2 separate regions of the Homo sapiens genome follow, and region 1 is linked to region 2. Evidence: promoter capture Hi-C in 16 types of primary human blood cells and fetal thymus (Javierre and others, 2016). All regions are on one chromosome and are shown on one strand. The core of a region is centred on a gene start or on the middle of the fragment in contact, and the rest is flanking DNA. Distances in the headings are between cores, read along the strand shown.

Evidence for each region. The method cuts DNA at HindIII sites, captures the fragments that hold promoters and counts their contacts. A CHiCAGO score of 5 or more calls a contact.
Region 1: a fragment that was not itself captured here is called in contact with the fragment with the promoter of REV3L in region 2 in 1 of 17 cell types (fetal thymus); the score reaches 7.4 in fetal thymus.

What each region holds. Positions count from the first base shown.
Region 1 is chr6:113,968,416-113,971,616 of GRCh38, forward strand. It overlaps HDAC2 (histone deacetylase 2), which reads right to left and starts at 2,733. Exons shown (of 14, transcript NM_001527.4): 1 at 2,442-2,733. The coding sequence starts at 2,493. HDAC2-AS2 (HDAC2 and HS3ST5 antisense RNA 2) reads left to right here and starts at 1,286. Exons shown (of 10, transcript NR_125845.1): 1 at 1,286-1,863. RefSeq lists silencers at 1,874-2,193, 2,404-2,703, 2,645-3,088, 3,064-3,201 and an enhancer at 2,250-3,201. The HindIII fragment of the contact is 2,571 bases long and covers 343-2,913 here.
Region 2 is chr6:111,481,463-111,485,160 of GRCh38, forward strand. REV3L (REV3 like, DNA directed polymerase zeta catalytic subunit) reads right to left here and starts at 1,756. Exons shown (of 32, transcript NM_001372078.1): 1 at 1,288-1,756. The coding sequence starts at 1,426. It also overlaps TRAF3IP2-AS1. RefSeq lists enhancers at 643-702, 2,543-2,902 and silencers at 1,073-1,152, 1,213-1,282, 1,343-1,642, 1,813-2,042, 2,083-2,472. The HindIII fragment of the contact is 6,397 bases long and covers 1-3,698 here.

The sequences.
Region 1 (3,201 bases), core at 378-2,877, 2.5 Mb after region 2:
TAAGCTGACAAAACAATGTTCTCTGGTAATAAAAATATAAGTTTTTGGATGAGGTCAGCACACTATCACATATTAATAATTAGCATAATATAAACATTAATAATCTCTGCAAAATATTTTAATTCCCTCCCACAAAAATTAAAAGAGTATGTGAAACATAAGCAACTAGGAACTCCACTTTAACAAACGAGTCACAGACAAAAGACAAAATAACCCACCAGAGATTTCCAAACTATCAGCTATTCACTTGTTGCTGGCCATCACGTAAGCAGGTGAATGGGCTACAATAAAGTATCATATTAAGTCACAATCACAAGACAAATATTTCCACCCTACTTATCAAGCTTGCATCCTTTCCCGGGTACCCGTGCCTGCTCCCATTCCCACAACGAAGGTTATCATAAATGGGCCCAGGACAAGAGCGCTGTTCAGAAACTGCTACTCAAGTGTACCCTCCTGGTTCTAGGGTTCCATTGTGGTGACAACAAATTACAAGCAGCTTACTTCCTCAGAGCCCATCACTACCAACACCAACTGACAGCTTCGAGAAGGACCTCAGTACCACTTTCCCTAACCAAAATTTTCCTCTTTACTCCAAGCCCTGACAAGGATAAATCTCTAAACTTTAGAAACAATGTAATTTTACAAATTAACTTATACGCAGGGTTACTTCCTTTCCAATTTGATCAGGGAATGCAGGGCAAGAATAACCCAAAATATGCAATGTAAATCATGTTGAAATTAAAATGTATTTCCATCTCCACCCCTCCACGATGGCATAATTTCAAATCAACTTATATAATGCATATCTAGTCCTCTGAAAAATCATTTTTAAAAGTAGGGCTGTTATTATTCTGTCCTAGCTATCGCAGATCAATTTAGATTTGTTCTGTAAGATTTCAGATTTTCCCCAAATGACACAGGTGGTTATTTTATATGTATCAGTCATTAAAAGATTAATCCTTTTTAACTAAAAAGAGACAGTACGGTCATTTACAAGTTAAAGTAGATTTATTCTGAGCTGGTGCTCTGGGGTCTTACTTCTCTAAAATTTTGTGATTTACAATACACCACATGTAGGAAACAGCTTCCAAAATTTGTATTGCTTCCTACAAATCAGACAGGACTTTCAGGAGAAGGAGCCTAGGATAGATTCTCTGTTAAATTTTGGAATCCCTTCTCTCAAGAGTAACCTACTATAAACTATTTACCAAGCCTTTGTGAAATCTGTATAACAGGTTACTACTCCATTGAGCAAGAAAACACAGGAAACAGGATTCGAAGATTTAATGTTACTGCTCATACTCCAAATTATAGAATGCTTAAGATAATTAAATTATCTGACTTTTATAATTCACTACACGGTGACCTCAAATTTACCTCATTAGAATATTTAGTACTTCTGCACTTCTCCCACTTCTCAAAGTTTTCCCATACCAGGATTCCCCACCACCTAGGAACAGCCTTTGCAAGATACCAATGCTCTCTAAATCCCCAAAGCAGGGTCTATTTCCTGATCGAACAAAGAGCAACAAAGAAGTGGGTGGTAACCACCTCTCTGAGGCAAGCCAGGACCCATGGAGTCTGATCTACAACACAAGCAGTAGCAGTTCCACATCTCCCTACCACCTCTTATTTCCTACGAAGTCTTTCTGCCTGAAACTGGAAAACCCGAACTATTATTGAGGAAGTGAAGCCCTTCCATTTGAATCCTGAGAAAGACGCGCTCAAAGAACCCAGCGAACAAAGGAGAGGGTTGGAGCCCACGCAAAACATGGGTGTGATAAAGCCACACGCGACCTGAGCCCCCACCCTCAGTAACTACTCTCCAGCGCCCACCGGGAGGAGGGGTCCGGGGAAAGGGTAAGCCGAGGAAGGAGAAGACGCTCCGGCCAGACCGAACGCAGGGTAGGGGAGGCGAGCAGGCGAGGAGGAGGGAAGGGGACGGGAGGGGCGGAGCTCTCGCGGCCGCGGGGCTTTGTGTAGAGTCAAGGCCGGGATAGAAATTTTGCCTCGCGGGGGACGGGTCGAGGGGGTAGGAGGCCGACGCGGGGCACCCCAAACCTGCGTTGCCACGAATGGTGGGCGGGAGAAGGGAGAGAATGGGCCGCCCCCTTCGCCGCCGCCACCACCAAGGCGGGGTAGGCCGGCGCCGTCCCCAGCGGCGGCCACCTTCGAGGCTGCGGACTGCACGGCCGAAGGGGGAGAGGCAGGAGACAAGACGGGCGGGCCCCCTGATTCCCGCCCGCAGGAACCGCGGGGGCTGCGCCAGGAAGAGGGTCTCGTTCTAACTGTGCCGGGCCGGGAACGGGTTAAGATGCGGCCAAATGTCGGTCCCTCCTCCTTCCCACCCCTCAGCCCCGGCGCCCACTCGCGACGGCAGCCGCGGAACCCAGCGCCCGGCCCCGCGCGCCCACCCCGACACCGGCCCGGCCGCTCACCGTCGTAGTAGTAGCAGACTTTTTTTTTGCCGCCTCCTTGACTGTACGCCATGGGCTCCCCGGCCACCGCCGCCACCGGGCTCCTCCTCCTGCTGCTGCTGCTGCTGCTGCTGCCGCCGCGGCTCGGCCGGGAGAGAAAAGGGCTGAGGGAAACGTGGGGGCGATAGTCCCGCGGGGAAGGGCAGGCCGGTGGGAGGAGAGGAGGGGGCGCCGGGAAGGCTCGGTACCACCCGGCAGAGGTGCCGAAAGCTCGGAATCGGAGGTGGCAGCGGCACCAACTCGCGAGGAGGGGGCCACCAAACCACCTCAGGAGGCCGCAGGGAGGTGAGCGCATCCACTGCGGCCTCCACGGGGGAGGAAGGGGCACGGCTGGAGAAGGAGGCCGTTTCGGGCTCGAGGTTAGAGGCCCTGTTAGGGTGAACAACCTGCGCAAGGCGGCGCCATACACAGTGTTAAAATGAGGAAGAAGACAAGCTTTCGCTGCGCAAGTAGATCCAGGGAGCGTGCAGCCGGGTGGACGTTCTCCCCCTCAGGTCTGCGCGCAGTGGTTGCGCCTGTCCCCGAGCCTGCGCAGTCGGCGCCTCGTAGCCTTGGCGGTCTGGACCCCTCCTCGGCGTCCCACGCTGCTCCCCTCCCCCACTGTCGCGAAGCTCCCGCCCAAGCCGACCACGTGCCGCGAGCCCGGCGGGGAGAGCCCACTCCCGCGCCCCTTCCGGGCCCACTACCCCGCCGGGCTGTGGCCCATCGCCCCAGTGCCTGG
Region 2 (3,698 bases), core at 506-3,005:
TTAAATAGGAATATGCTACCAAATCTCACAACATTGACATTTTAACAAAGAGAATTCACATTAAAAGATAACTGCTTTAAAATGAGTGCTTGTGTTTGGGAAAGCGCTATTATCTTGGTAGTCCACAGAAACTGACTGTAGTAATAAGATGAATGGTGATGAGGGCAAGGAGCATCAAGTGGGAAATGCTATCTAAAATCCCATAGGGCAATTCATAGCTAGAGGGAAGAACAACCTTTCCTAAGATGCATTATTTCCTAGAACTCCATTATTTCATGGAAGCAGTTCAAAGCATGCAAAAAAGCAAAACCATTTTAAAACACCTAGTAAACTGGGCCTCTATCTTTTTTATATTATCATAAGCCCCAGGAGTTTTTGAGAACGTACCTTCTGTCACGGCTGTCTCCCCTTCCCATCCCTTCTTCAACATAGTTGTGTTTAAAAAATATATACCTGTACTTAAAACGCAATCCTACAGCCCAGCCTAGGAGCATTTCAAAATGTCTGTGCTGCTGAGTCTGGCTGTGGTTCCTAATAAATTCACCCCATTAAGTGTGATGTTTTAGGTTGGGCAACATAAACACGCATTTCCTACTTCCATGGATGCACATTTCCTGAAAGCACTGCACCTAAGGATGCTGCCCTGTCCCCCGACGCTCAGGCACTAAACTCTAAGGAGTCACGACCTGCACTCACAGCAGAGCCACACGGTCACCCCAGTGAGAAAGATTATCTGGCCCCAAGCGCCACTCTCTCCGGCCCACTGCATCTCCGGAACTGGCAGAGGAGAGCGAGGGTGAGAAGAGACCATGGGGAGCGACTGACAACAAGGCTGACACTTCCCCGTTTCCAGAAAGCGGCACTTGGGGGACACAAGGGATGTCCCACTAGCGACCGACCTCAGAGCAGGCCCTACGAACCCGTCCACCGATGGACATGGCGCGGCCACCTGGCCCGCCGTCCGGGGCGCCCGCGGCTTTCGCTCTCCCGGCCCGCGCCCTGGAGTGCGGCTCCCGCTCCCGGCCGCCACACGCAGTCTAAACACGCGGCGCTCGCCACCTCCCTGCCCGGGGGTGGGGGCGCCGCGCAGCGCTCGCGCGGACCCACATTTTTGCGGCTCTTGTCACGCACGAGAGAAAAGGCGAGGAGGGCGGAGGGGAGGGAAGACGCGGCAGCGATCCACGGAGACGGCCGGCGCCGGTGGCGTGTGCGCGTGTGCGCGGCGGGGAGGGCGGCCCCGGCGCCCCGCCGACTCCCGCTCCCGCCCCGCGCCCGGCGCCCGCTTACCTGCCGGGGTCGCTCCGAAGACTCGCACCACCGGCACCTTCTTGACAGGGGCCTGGGTGAGGGGGGATTGGCAGGTATCCAGCCCCTGCAGCGGGCTGGCCATGTAGTAGTCTGCAGTCACTATCCTTACTGAAAACATGTTCGCCGCCGCCGCCACTGCCTCCCTTCACTGGCGACCCGGCAGCGGCAGCAGCAGCGGCGGCGGCTCCCTCCGCAGCGGCGGCGGCGCCCCCTCCCCTTCTCGGCACGGCCCCCTCCCCTCACACAGAGGCACCTCGAGGAGCGGCGGGCGGGGCGGTGTAGGCGCTGCTGCCGCCGCCTCCTCAGGAGCACCCGGCAAGGGGCCGCAGGAGAGAAGCCCTCGAGCTTTCGTCGGTGCTGGTGCTGCCGCCACTGCCGCCACCGCCGGGAATCACACGGGCTCCTCGGTCCCAGGCTGCAGCTCTTGTTGCCATGATGATGATGTCACGGACGCAACCACTGGGGGGAGGGGAGAGGGGGGTGTGTGTGGCGAAGGGAGGCTGCGAGTAGTGCGGGGGAGGGGGCTCGGCGGGAAAAGGAGCGAGAGGGCGGGCGCCCGGGCGGGACACGGAGGGCGGGGGCCGAGAAGGGGCTTTCTCCCCCTCCCCGGGCACGCGGCGAGGGAGGCGGCCGGCGGCCGGCAGCGCCCGCGCGGGATCGATGACTCGGCTGGCGGGCACGGTCACCTGGGTGAGGGGCAGCGGAAGGGGCGGCGGAGCACCGATCTCATGGATGGGCTCCGAGGGGCTTGCGGGAGGGGGGCGCCAGTGTTCGGGGCCGTTTTGGCGGCTATGCAGGATTGGCAGGAGCTGCGATGCTCACACTTGCCTCGCCGACCGCCATTTCACATCCAGCAGAGGAGGCGGGGGCAGCCGCTGAGACGGTTTTTCACAAGGTAAGAAAATCCGCCCGCGTGAGGAGGGAGGCGAGGCGCAGATCTCGTGCCGCTGCGGCCTCGCGGGAGGGAAGGGCGGGCGGGCGGCGGAACGGGCGGGGCCGGGTGCGGACGCAGCCGGCCCTTCTCAGGTAACGCCGCGGCTCCGCGCGTGGCCCGGGGGCGGTGCGAAGGGTGGGGGCGCGCGGGCGCGGGCTTCGGCCTATAAAAGGGCCGCCCTGGCGTTCCCCCTTCCCGAACGTGCCGCGCGAGCCGCGGTGCCCCCTCCTCTTTGCTGCTGCAGTGTCTGCGCCGGGCCATTTAATGAGATTTATTCACGCACGGCTCTTCTCAGCTTTGCGAGGGGTTGGCAGATCCAGTGCACAGGGATTTCCCACTACCGTGTTTTTCTCCCGCCCCCTTCCTTCCCTCTCGTCCTAATACATCCTTCGTTGGTTTCCTCGGCCCCGCAGGCTGCGTCCCGGGCACGCGCAAGTACATGTAAGGACTTGTCAGCTGCCGGTGACCTCCCTCCTCCCTCGTCGCTCCTCCCCCAGCGGAATGTAGGATTAACAGTCTTTCCGAGAAAATTTTGGCCAAAGAAAAAGGCCTGTGAAAGTCACCGCGTTAGACGTGGCCTCCTCGTGTTTTTCACTAACACGTTATGGAAGGTTTTACTACCCGAAGGCATAAAAGCACCACCGTGGGGAAGGGCCGTTTTGAATAAACAACTTTATTCAAAAATCGAGAGGGGGTGAAGCGATGCAGTTAGGGAATTTTTGTTTTAAAGAGTAGTAACATGCAGCTGGCTTGGCTATTAAATTGGAAACAAGGGGTTCCTCTCTGACTTGGCCACTGATATTGGGCGTGACCTTGGACAAATAATTTTGTTTCTTTGGGCTCAGTTTCTACATATGTAAAACGGGAAGGTTTCTCTTAAAAACTAATCCTGAAGGGTTTCTTCTCAACAAAAAGATGCAAGCTGTAGGAGGCAGAAAGCGTGGGTTCAAGTTCGAAATTTGCCCCTGAATTAGGACCCTTGACACATTTCTAACCCATCCAAGTAGAGATCGTTCTTTTACATTTGTGTGTTATACAGGTGCATTTTAGTGGTTACCAGGTTGCCACGTATTTGAAGTGGTGTGAGAGCTACTCGTTTGGAACCGTTGTGGATTTTCAAATAGGAAAATCAAAAGGCCCAAAGAGACAGCTCACTGGTAAGAAGCTGTCTATAAATTCCCTAACATATAAATGCTATAATAAGAACTTACGCTCCGAGGGATTTGAGACTGATTACTACAGTAAATTAGCTTGTAGTTTTTAACCTCAGAGCATGATTATAAACATACGTGGCAAGATTTCTACTAATATGCTGGAAATTAGCTAATATTTTTAAGAGGCAAAATCTCTTGATCTGAAATTTTAGAAGGCTATAGAAGTGATTTTAAAATATGACTACCATGCTAAAATGTATTTTTTATAAAATAAATATTTTGTACACGCCGAATGTCAGATA